2 separate regions of the Homo sapiens genome follow, and region 2 is linked to region 1. Evidence: promoter capture Hi-C in 16 types of primary human blood cells and fetal thymus (Javierre and others, 2016). All regions are on one chromosome and are shown on one strand. The core of a region is centred on a gene start or on the middle of the fragment in contact, and the rest is flanking DNA. Distances in the headings are between cores, read along the strand shown. Region 1 holds the start of PTPN14 (protein tyrosine phosphatase non-receptor type 14). Region 2 has its middle 67 kb from the start of SMYD2.

The links. The method cuts DNA at HindIII sites, captures the fragments that hold promoters and counts their contacts. A CHiCAGO score of 5 or more calls a contact.
Region 2: a fragment that was not itself captured here is called in contact with the fragment with the promoter of PTPN14 in region 1 in 2 of 17 cell types (megakaryocytes and endothelial precursors); the score reaches 6.0 in megakaryocytes.

The regions. Positions count from the first base shown.
Region 1 is chr1:214,549,451-214,553,805 of GRCh38, reverse strand. PTPN14 (protein tyrosine phosphatase non-receptor type 14) reads left to right here and starts at 2,204. Exons shown (of 19, transcript NM_005401.5): 1 at 2,204-2,623. RefSeq lists enhancers at 1,078-1,898, 1,899-2,719, 2,720-3,541. The HindIII fragment of the contact is 5,292 bases long and covers 1-4,246 here.
Region 2 is chr1:214,212,472-214,216,826 of GRCh38, reverse strand. No RefSeq gene overlaps it. Among named protein-coding and RNA genes, the nearest start is that of SMYD2, 67 kb to the left of the region's middle. The HindIII fragment of the contact is 220 bases long and covers 1,968-2,187 here.

The DNA.
Region 1 (4,355 bases), core at 955-3,454:
TCAGAGGCAGAACCGGAACCCTTGTGTCTGCCCAAGAAGGACAACAAGTCCTTTGCTGCTTCTTTTATGCCACAACAGCCTCAGGGTGCTGTGCTCAGTTTGGTAGCACAGTGATGTTAGAGCAACACAATATATTTCCTAGTGTCTTTTCACTAGAAAAGACACCAAGCAAGAGGTCTCCCATCTCCCAGGAAAGAGCAAAGGCCAGAGTTTTACATTGAGATCCTGAAGGCATTTTCTTATCTTTAATCCTAATCCTGTTTGGGTCCAATTTCAAAGAGATGAAGAGCATGCACTTTAGGCCTGACAGACTAGGGCCCTGATCATATCTTCCTAGTTGTATGACCCTCAGTGAGACAGGTAATTTCTTCATGCCTCACTTTCCTCATCTAGGAATGGGGGAGTGCTTTCCACACTTTCTGGAACACAGTCAGGCACTGCCTAATGTTTTCTTTGGAAACCCAGCACGTCTGTACAGCTATTTCCTTTAAAATGTGAGAAAGTTGATTTCCCTTCAACCTTTTCTTTCCATCACTTTTGCATTGCACTCGGCGTTTTCTCTAATTTACAGTTCTAGAGATTGGCAGATGCTCGAAGAAAATCAGAGTCACTACGGATTTATTTATTTTATTTTATTTTATTTTATTTTATTTTTTTGAGAGGAGTCTGGCCGTGTAGCCCAGGCTGGAGTGCAGTGGCGCGATCTCGGCTCACTGCAACCTCCGCCTCCCAAGTTCAAGCAATTAACCTGCCTCAGCCCCAGAGTAGCTGGGACTACAGGCGCACGCCGCCACCCCCGAAACATTTTTTGAATTTTAGTAGAGACGGGGTTTCACCGTGTTGCCCGGGCTGGTGTCGAACTTCTGAGCTCAGCCAATCCCCCAGCTTTGGCTTCCCAAAGTGCTGGGATTACAGGTGTGAGCCACCGCGCTTTTTGGTTTCCAATTCTCTTCCCCAAGAGGCCAGGAATTTTTGCATGAGTTGCCGGACACTGAAGTGATTTGGGACAATACATTGTGTGCCAACGACTTCAAGGTCCCTTTTCAACAAAGGACTGGAATCTTACCGAGATAAATCCCAAGACATGTTTGTAGCAATGCAAAGGACCACAGAAATCTAGACAAATTATTTAATTTTGCAGCTACAGAAACCTAGGATCTCAGGGGCTGGGATACTCCTCAGTTATCCAATCGGGCAGGGCCTAAAACCCAGGTTCAGTCGCCTGGCTCCGAGCTTTTTCCATCATACCAGCTGCGTCTCATTAACTCCACCTCCGAAAGTGCTAAGGAAGTTCCCTCCCAGTGCCTACCCAGGCAGGGTGGGGCGATTCTGTGGCATGGAACAAACCGGGAAAACGACATTTTCCAACTCTCAGCACACAGGCTGCTTTTTATCATTCCTACGGGGCGGGAGGGGGCAGGGAGAGAAGGCTAAGACACCGGGTCCAGTACCCAGAGATTCTAGGGAGAGATCTCTGAGATTGCCTACTTGGTGAGGCCACCTTACTTTCTCCTGGTCTGTTTTCCCCTGTGGGGTGGCTGCATGAAACGTCCTGCTTGGAGGGTTCCCCAATATAAGGTGGACTATTCTGAATGTAGGTCGGGGTGAGCAAGTTCCTGCCGCCGCCCCGTCTCTGCGGTCCTCGGAAGTCTAGGTGGGCTCTTCCTTGCCTTGCCTCTTTCTCCCCAACGGCGGGAGCAGCCCAGGGTTGGGGTGGCTGCGGTCGCCTTGCTCTCTCCACTTCCACGTCTCTTACTCCAGGGAGTTTCATCCGGTCCTCCGTCCTCGGCCCCCACCTTTTAAAACATTTTCCAAAACTACCCCATTAAAAGTGTGCGACTTCTCCGGGCCTGCAGAAGGAGCTCCTGCAGCCCGGCATTCCTCGGATTCCAGCGCTGTGACGTCCCCAAGGACGGCGCGCCTCCAGCTCGGGAGCTCGGGAGCTGGGGCTCCACGTTTCAGCGCGCGCCCGCGGCGCCCCCGGCGCGCGCCCTCCCGGGCCGCATTCCTCCCCGCCCCCGGCCGCGCGCCCAGCGCTCCCTCCGCCTCCCGGCCCCCAGGGCCGCGGAGCCCGGCTCTGGGGTGGGGGAGCCGTGGCCGCCGGCGCCTGCTCCGTCCCCTCCCACTCGCACGGCCCCTTCCTCCCTCCTCTCCCGGCCGCTCGCATTTCCTGCCGCTCTGGCTCTCCCGGCCCCTCAAAGTTCTTTCCAACTTTTTCTCGGCGGAGTGAGCGCAGCGGGCGCAGACTCGGGGGCAGGTTGCTGTGCTTCTCCGGGCTCAGCCGCCTGCTCTCCTGGCTCAGGTCCTCGGGGAGCCCTAGACAGACATCAAGTGGCCACTGGCGCTCCTTCCCCTCCCAGCTGAGCCATCCTCCCCGGCCTCCTCGGGCGGGACAGCCCCGTGCTTAGGTTTTTCTCCTTTTCTCCCCCGGTGCGCCTCTGCTCGGACTCTCGCGCCGGGATCGCGGCGGAAACCTCCCTCCCCTTTCGCCTCCTGCGGCTCCTTCCCTTCGCCCCTCCTCCGCCAGTCACTGGAATCAATTCCGTGGGGAATCGGCTCCGCCGCCGCGAAGGACAGCCTTTCCGCGCGGGACTCCGGGGCGCCACGGGGGCCATGTAAGCAGGTAAGCCCCGTCCAAGCCGGGAGTTGGGCCCGAGGTTGGAGGCCGCCTTGGCGCTCCGGGCGCCCTGCAGATGACTTGGGCAGACGCTGGCAACGCCAACTTGCGATTGGCGCCCCGGGACGCCTGGCAGGGCAGCCTGGGGCGCGGGGTGGCCGGGCCGCAGGGGTGTTATCTCGCGGTGGGAGCTGCCCGCGGTGAGGCGCAAAGCTGGTCCCGGGAGCGAGCTGGAAGGTGAGCGCAGTCTGGGGAGTTTGTGGTTAAACCCACACCCTGGTCCCCTCTCTCCATTCCCTTCTGCGTTTTGGGAACGAGAGAGGGCCTCGGAAGGGCAACTAGAGATACCTAGACCTTGGGGGCTAGAGGATGAAAGACGAACGACGTCGCGGTCGCTGCAGCGGTAGGGGGATGCAGCTGCCCGACGCTCCCAATCACACCCCACCACCACCGGGAAGGAATCTTGAGGGGAGCGGAGTTTTCCTGCCCTCTCACTAGGCCCCAGTGGTGCCACCGAACTCCTGGGCGTCGAGGCTCCTACTTGGGTGGTCGAGCTGGCTCGTAGAAAAAAAGCTGTGGCCAAACAATTTCAGATCAGGTCTTCACCTCAAACTTCCAAAGTTGTAGGTATTAACAGCCTCTCCTTCCCCACGTGACCCCCAGATCTCAGGTTTGAATACTTGTAAATGGGGTTTACACCTTTTCGTTTGGAGAGAGCAGTGAGGTAACGCTGCCCCTATCTCCCTTTCCCTCTCACTTCCTTGGGTTCTTGTTCTCCAACCTTCTCATCCCCACCTACAATTTCAGAAATTGTGGGGTTTCCGCTTAAGTCTAGGGACTGGCTGTCGCAGGTTCTTTGTGAAGGTGAGGAATCTCTAGACTGCAGGTGCGGGCAGTTACAGAGTTTCCACCAATGTGTTAACTTCTTGAAATGGATTAGTTTACTCATTCATCCAACAAACCCAGCTTCTACTCTGCTAGGAACAGGATAGAAAGATGCTAAATGAGATCACAGGGCAGGAGTCTGCAGCCTAGTGGAGGAAACTTGAAGGCCGGTGAAGAATGATAATACATGGAAGAGGGGTTCTGTGAGAGTCTGAGGCGAGCTTGGTCCTGGTGAAGGGTGCACTACACTTAGAGGATAGAGGTTGTGCTCCTCTGGAGGGTGTATTCCAGGCAGAGGAAACAGCTCGTGCAGAGTGAACACAAGAAGGACAGAAAGTTTCCCTAGCCATCTGGGGGCCTGAGGGGCATTTATGGCCATGTTGGTGCAGTGTTGCTGGGATAGCATTCTCTCCACCCCCAATATCAGAAATAAATCTAGAAGCACGTTAGCCACTTATGGGAACCACAAGTAGCTTACCGAGGAGCCAAGGCCTCCCTAATTGGATACACCTCCATGCCTGCTGCTGTTTTACCACAAGCAGCTGTTGTATGATCATCTACATTTTAATTGGCCCATGCTCGGTTTCATTAAAATGGTATTGATTCTTCTTTTTTGTCCCCCACATTCAAGCAATGATTCCTTTTTTAAAAAGGCTGTTTGACAGCCGTAGGTGTGGTAATACCGCAGCATTACGGACCTTGTATTATAAAGTTAGCTAATTGTTTGGTGATGAGGTTGAAGCTTGTGCCATAGAAATGACAGCCTTAATGAGCGGGAGCTGAATGGCATGATGCCCTTTTTGCCCAGTCTGAATGGGTGGCCATGAGGTGCAAAATTCGTTCATCTGTATGT
Region 2 (4,355 bases), core at 828-3,327, 340 kb after region 1:
TATCTAATGGACAGCCATTAGGTACAAGGGCTCCATGTTTCACATTTGCCAATTCATCGAATCCTTCTAGCCATCCTGTGGTATTGCTTAAAAAATCAAATCTAACAATTACAGTTTTCTCACCAGACTTGAGTAGAATATGCTTGCTAAACTTGTCCCAAACTTTTCCTGTAGTGTCAGGTTTTACCTACAAAAATTCAAGGCAGGCTGGGGCAAAATTTCTTTAGCAGCCTGGAAGCTCAACACATTTCCCTGTTACAGCGTAACAACAGAGTAGTTCTCTGGGGCGTTATCTGCTTTTAAAGTTAAAAAATATTGTAAAAGTATCAATATGCTTTGCCAAACATTCAAACCATACAGAAGCATATTTAAGCAAATACGTTACATGCCTGGTCTCTTCTCTCTTCCCCAGACCTTTCTCTGTGAACTTCATTCACCATAGGTGGCTACCACAGCCACCCATCACCTTCAGATGCTTCCCTGAACTCCTTCTGGGCCTTTCCCTAAGAGCATAGTATTCACATTGCTTTGCAACCTTGGTTTTTTAATTTAACCATATGTTGTGGACATCTTCCAGGTCAGTACATTTGATTTAACTCATTCTTTTTATCGGCTGCCAAGCAGTGATGAGCTGCCAGTACCTAACATTTGTTGAATGTGTCTATGTACCAAGTACCAGGTGTCATTTTTATTTTATTCTCACAAAAACCATATGAGATAGGTACTTTTTTCTATCCTATTTTTGTATGAGGAAACTGAGGGTTTTAAAAAATTATAATCCACTTAACTAGTCCCTATTAAGGCATAGTTAATTGAATATATATTTATACACACATACACACATCTGTAGGGTAAGTCCTGGATTCATTCATCCCACACTGATTTTTGAGAGCCCACTATGTGCCAAGAAATGTGGTAGGCACTAGGAATGCTGTGTTGAAGACAATATAGATCCTGCTTCAGTGGCGCTTATACAGTAGTGCCTAGACAGGCAAGAGTCATGACATCAGGTGGTGACGTAAGCTAAGAACAATAAGACAGTGGAGGGAATGGAGAGTGACAGAGTTACTATTCCAGAGTGTGTGGTCAGGAAAGACTTCTCTGGTGAGAGACTTGATGAAGCAAGGGAGAGAACATTCTGGAACAGGAAATCAAAGATGGAAATGTGGCAGGTTCAAGGACAGAAGAGCATATCAAGGATAACTCCAGGGTTCCGGGACTTCACTAATATGCTGAGTGGCAGGGCCATTTACTAAGAGGGGATGGGGAGCAGGAGCAGTTTTGAGAAGGTAGGGGAAAGGAAAAAGAATTCCATCGTGGACTGATGTTTGCTGTGTTTATTACACATCCAAAGGGAGGTGTTCAGAAAGGAGCCTGGGGTGCAGAGGAGAGGTCAGGGCTGGAGACTTAATTTGGCCACTGTCAGTCTATGAGACATGTTGAAAGATACAGGACTGACTGAGTGCACCTGAGTGAGGGAGGCAGAGAAGACCAGAATTTCTAAGTCAAGGAAATGCAAACATATTCCTAAATGTTGTCAAATTGTTCTTGAAAAAGTTTTGCCAACTTATACTTACCAATACCCCAGGAGAAGGCTGACTCCATACCCAGGGGTGAAAAATAAACTATTGTTTCCATTTAAATTTGTATTTATTTACTATGAATTAAATTGAGCACATTTCCAATGTTTCATTGGCCCTTTGCTCCATTTTATCCTGTGATATGCCTCTTCATGCCGTTTGCCCATCTGATCAATTGATAAGAATATTGATTTACAGGATTTATTGATCTATACATTTATTGATTTATAAGAGCTCTTAGAATATTTATATTTAAGAACATTAATTCTTTGTCATATGTTTTACAGCTTTTTATTTTTTCTTCTGATTTTCAAAGTGCTTTTTGAAGTTCAGATGATTAAAAGTTTTATGTAGTCAAGTCTAATAATATCTTTTCCTTTTAAAGCTTCTGAGTTCAATACTTAGAGCGGTCTTTTAAAATCTAAGACGGCAATAGGATTCCCCAGGTTTTCTTGTAATTAAAAGTTTCCAGTGTGTCTGATTTCTCTTATTTTCACTGCAGAATTACTCAGCAAAGGAATCCATGGAACTAATTTCTTTTTAGGCTCATTTGGCAACAGTTTGCTGCTGGTGAAGCAGGAGGAGGTTAAATAGCAGCTGCCAAGCTTTTGGTTGTGCCCAGAGCCCAGCACACGATAGGTGCTTAACATATCTTTACTGAAGGAATGCTTTGCTGGCTTTTGTTTTAACATGGGTAAAACTCTTCATAGTTGCCAAGTACTTCCCTGATGTTATCTCTTCCGAAGCTCCAGCCTTTCCTGCAGTAGAAAAAGGGGCCGGGGAGGAGGCCAGGGTGACTTGGTCAGCACTGACCAGAGCTAGGGACGACAGCTTTATAGAGGAAACGCCTCGCAGACGCCACTGGGGCAGTTCCTCTTCACCTTTCTTGGATTTGGTGACTGGAGAATTTCAAATACACAATTGCAGTTTCTACTCTGGAGCTCGCTTTGAGGAAGGAGAAAGTGTTTGCTACTCTAAACGAAATATATTGTAGGCAAAATGCATTTTGTTTTGCAAGCAGGGAGCTAGTGTGTGTGTGTGTGTGTGTGTGTGTGTGTGTGTGTGTGTGTGTGTGGTGGGGGGGGGGGTCCCAGTTTCCAGTCCTTTTCTTGTCACTTTCTGCCATCTACTGGCCATAGCACAAAATACTCTGGAATGACTTCAATGATGCCTATGAAGAAAGAGGCTTTATTCCTGTACGTTCTCAACCTGAAATGTAATTTCCCAGATAAATTTTGCCATAATTCACCAGGATCCAACATTTATTTTTTTCAAAATAACAGTTCTGTGAAGGGACTGAATTATTTGAGCAATGACTTTATTATTTTTGTTCCTTTGTCTGAGAAGCAGTATTTGAACTCTGACCACCTGAGTTTAAATATTGGCTGTATAATTTATTGTCTGTGTGACCTTCAGCAAGAAACTCAACCCCTCAGTGCCTTATTCTCCTCATTTGCAATGTGGATTTGATACTAGATCTTGCCTCTTAGGGTTTTGCTTAGATTACGTTGAGTTCTCAAATATAAAGCATATAGTATCTTGCACTGCAAGAGTACTCCATAAATGTTATCTGTTATTTGCTTGAAATCTATGTGAGTTTAGGTAGGCATTACTCTGGGACATAGAGAATTCCATAAATTAGGTATTTATAACCTATGCCCAATATTTGTGTACCAATTTTGTTTCCAAACTGCTTGCATTTTAACTCTGGAAATTCAGCCCAAAAACAGCAGCCTCTGTTCTGGAGCCCTCTTTATTACCTCCTGCTGGAATAATCCATATTACCTCTGAGCTCCCATAGCCCAGTATCTGGTCCTCTCTTGGACTGACGATTTCACCTTGGAATGTGAACTTGTCTCGCCTTGTACATTGCCTGGGTCCCTGAGGGTAAGACGCAGTCTGATTCATCATTATCTCTCACAGTCTCCCTTACACTATGTTATTCAGCAACTACTCAACAAATATTTGTTGAAAAGCCGAATGAATAATCTCATTTGATTCTCCCAGGAATCCTGAGTCAGGTACAGCAGATATGAATTGTGCACACTGAATAGATGAGGAATTGTGAGACTTGCCCCAGATGAGATGGAATGGGGCTAGAATTCAAGGCTGGGGAGAGTCTGTGACATGCCAAGAATGTGCATGAAAGAGAATCAAGGGAGCAACATAGAGGAAAAGGCTCATCCCCAGCCCGTATGCAATGGAGCTACACACTGAAGAATAATTTTGGTGGGGCTAGGAGGAAGGGTTTCGTGTCTGAAGCTGATCTTCTGGCTGTCATGCCTCATCCAAGTCCCACGGAACTGCATTTTCATAGTCCAGTGCCAACTTCCACATTTCCACTGTCTCATCAATGATTGTCAGTCTCATGACTAATGCTTTGGGACTAGATGTCAAAATATTTATTTCTCAAAATCACTTATGATTGTCAAGGGGCCACAGAACCCCTTCAGAATATCCCTGTTACTTATGATTAGGTACAAAGATCCTAGCTTTACTGGGAGTCAGGGACCATGAAGATGTCTCTATTCTATTATTCTCTATTACATTTTCATCCTTTGCTTCCACAGACGAAGGCCAAGTGAGTCTCTCCTGATGATGTTCAACCTTCATTCAACAAGTTGAATAATTACAACAAGCCATAATTACTGTTGTACATGTGTACAACAAGTGCCTATGGAGCACCTGCTAGGGGCCATGTTATGCTGGGTGCACAGGGAAGATGTGGTCCTTGTCCTCTTGCTTACAACCAGGAGGAAAGCCAATTGCACATAT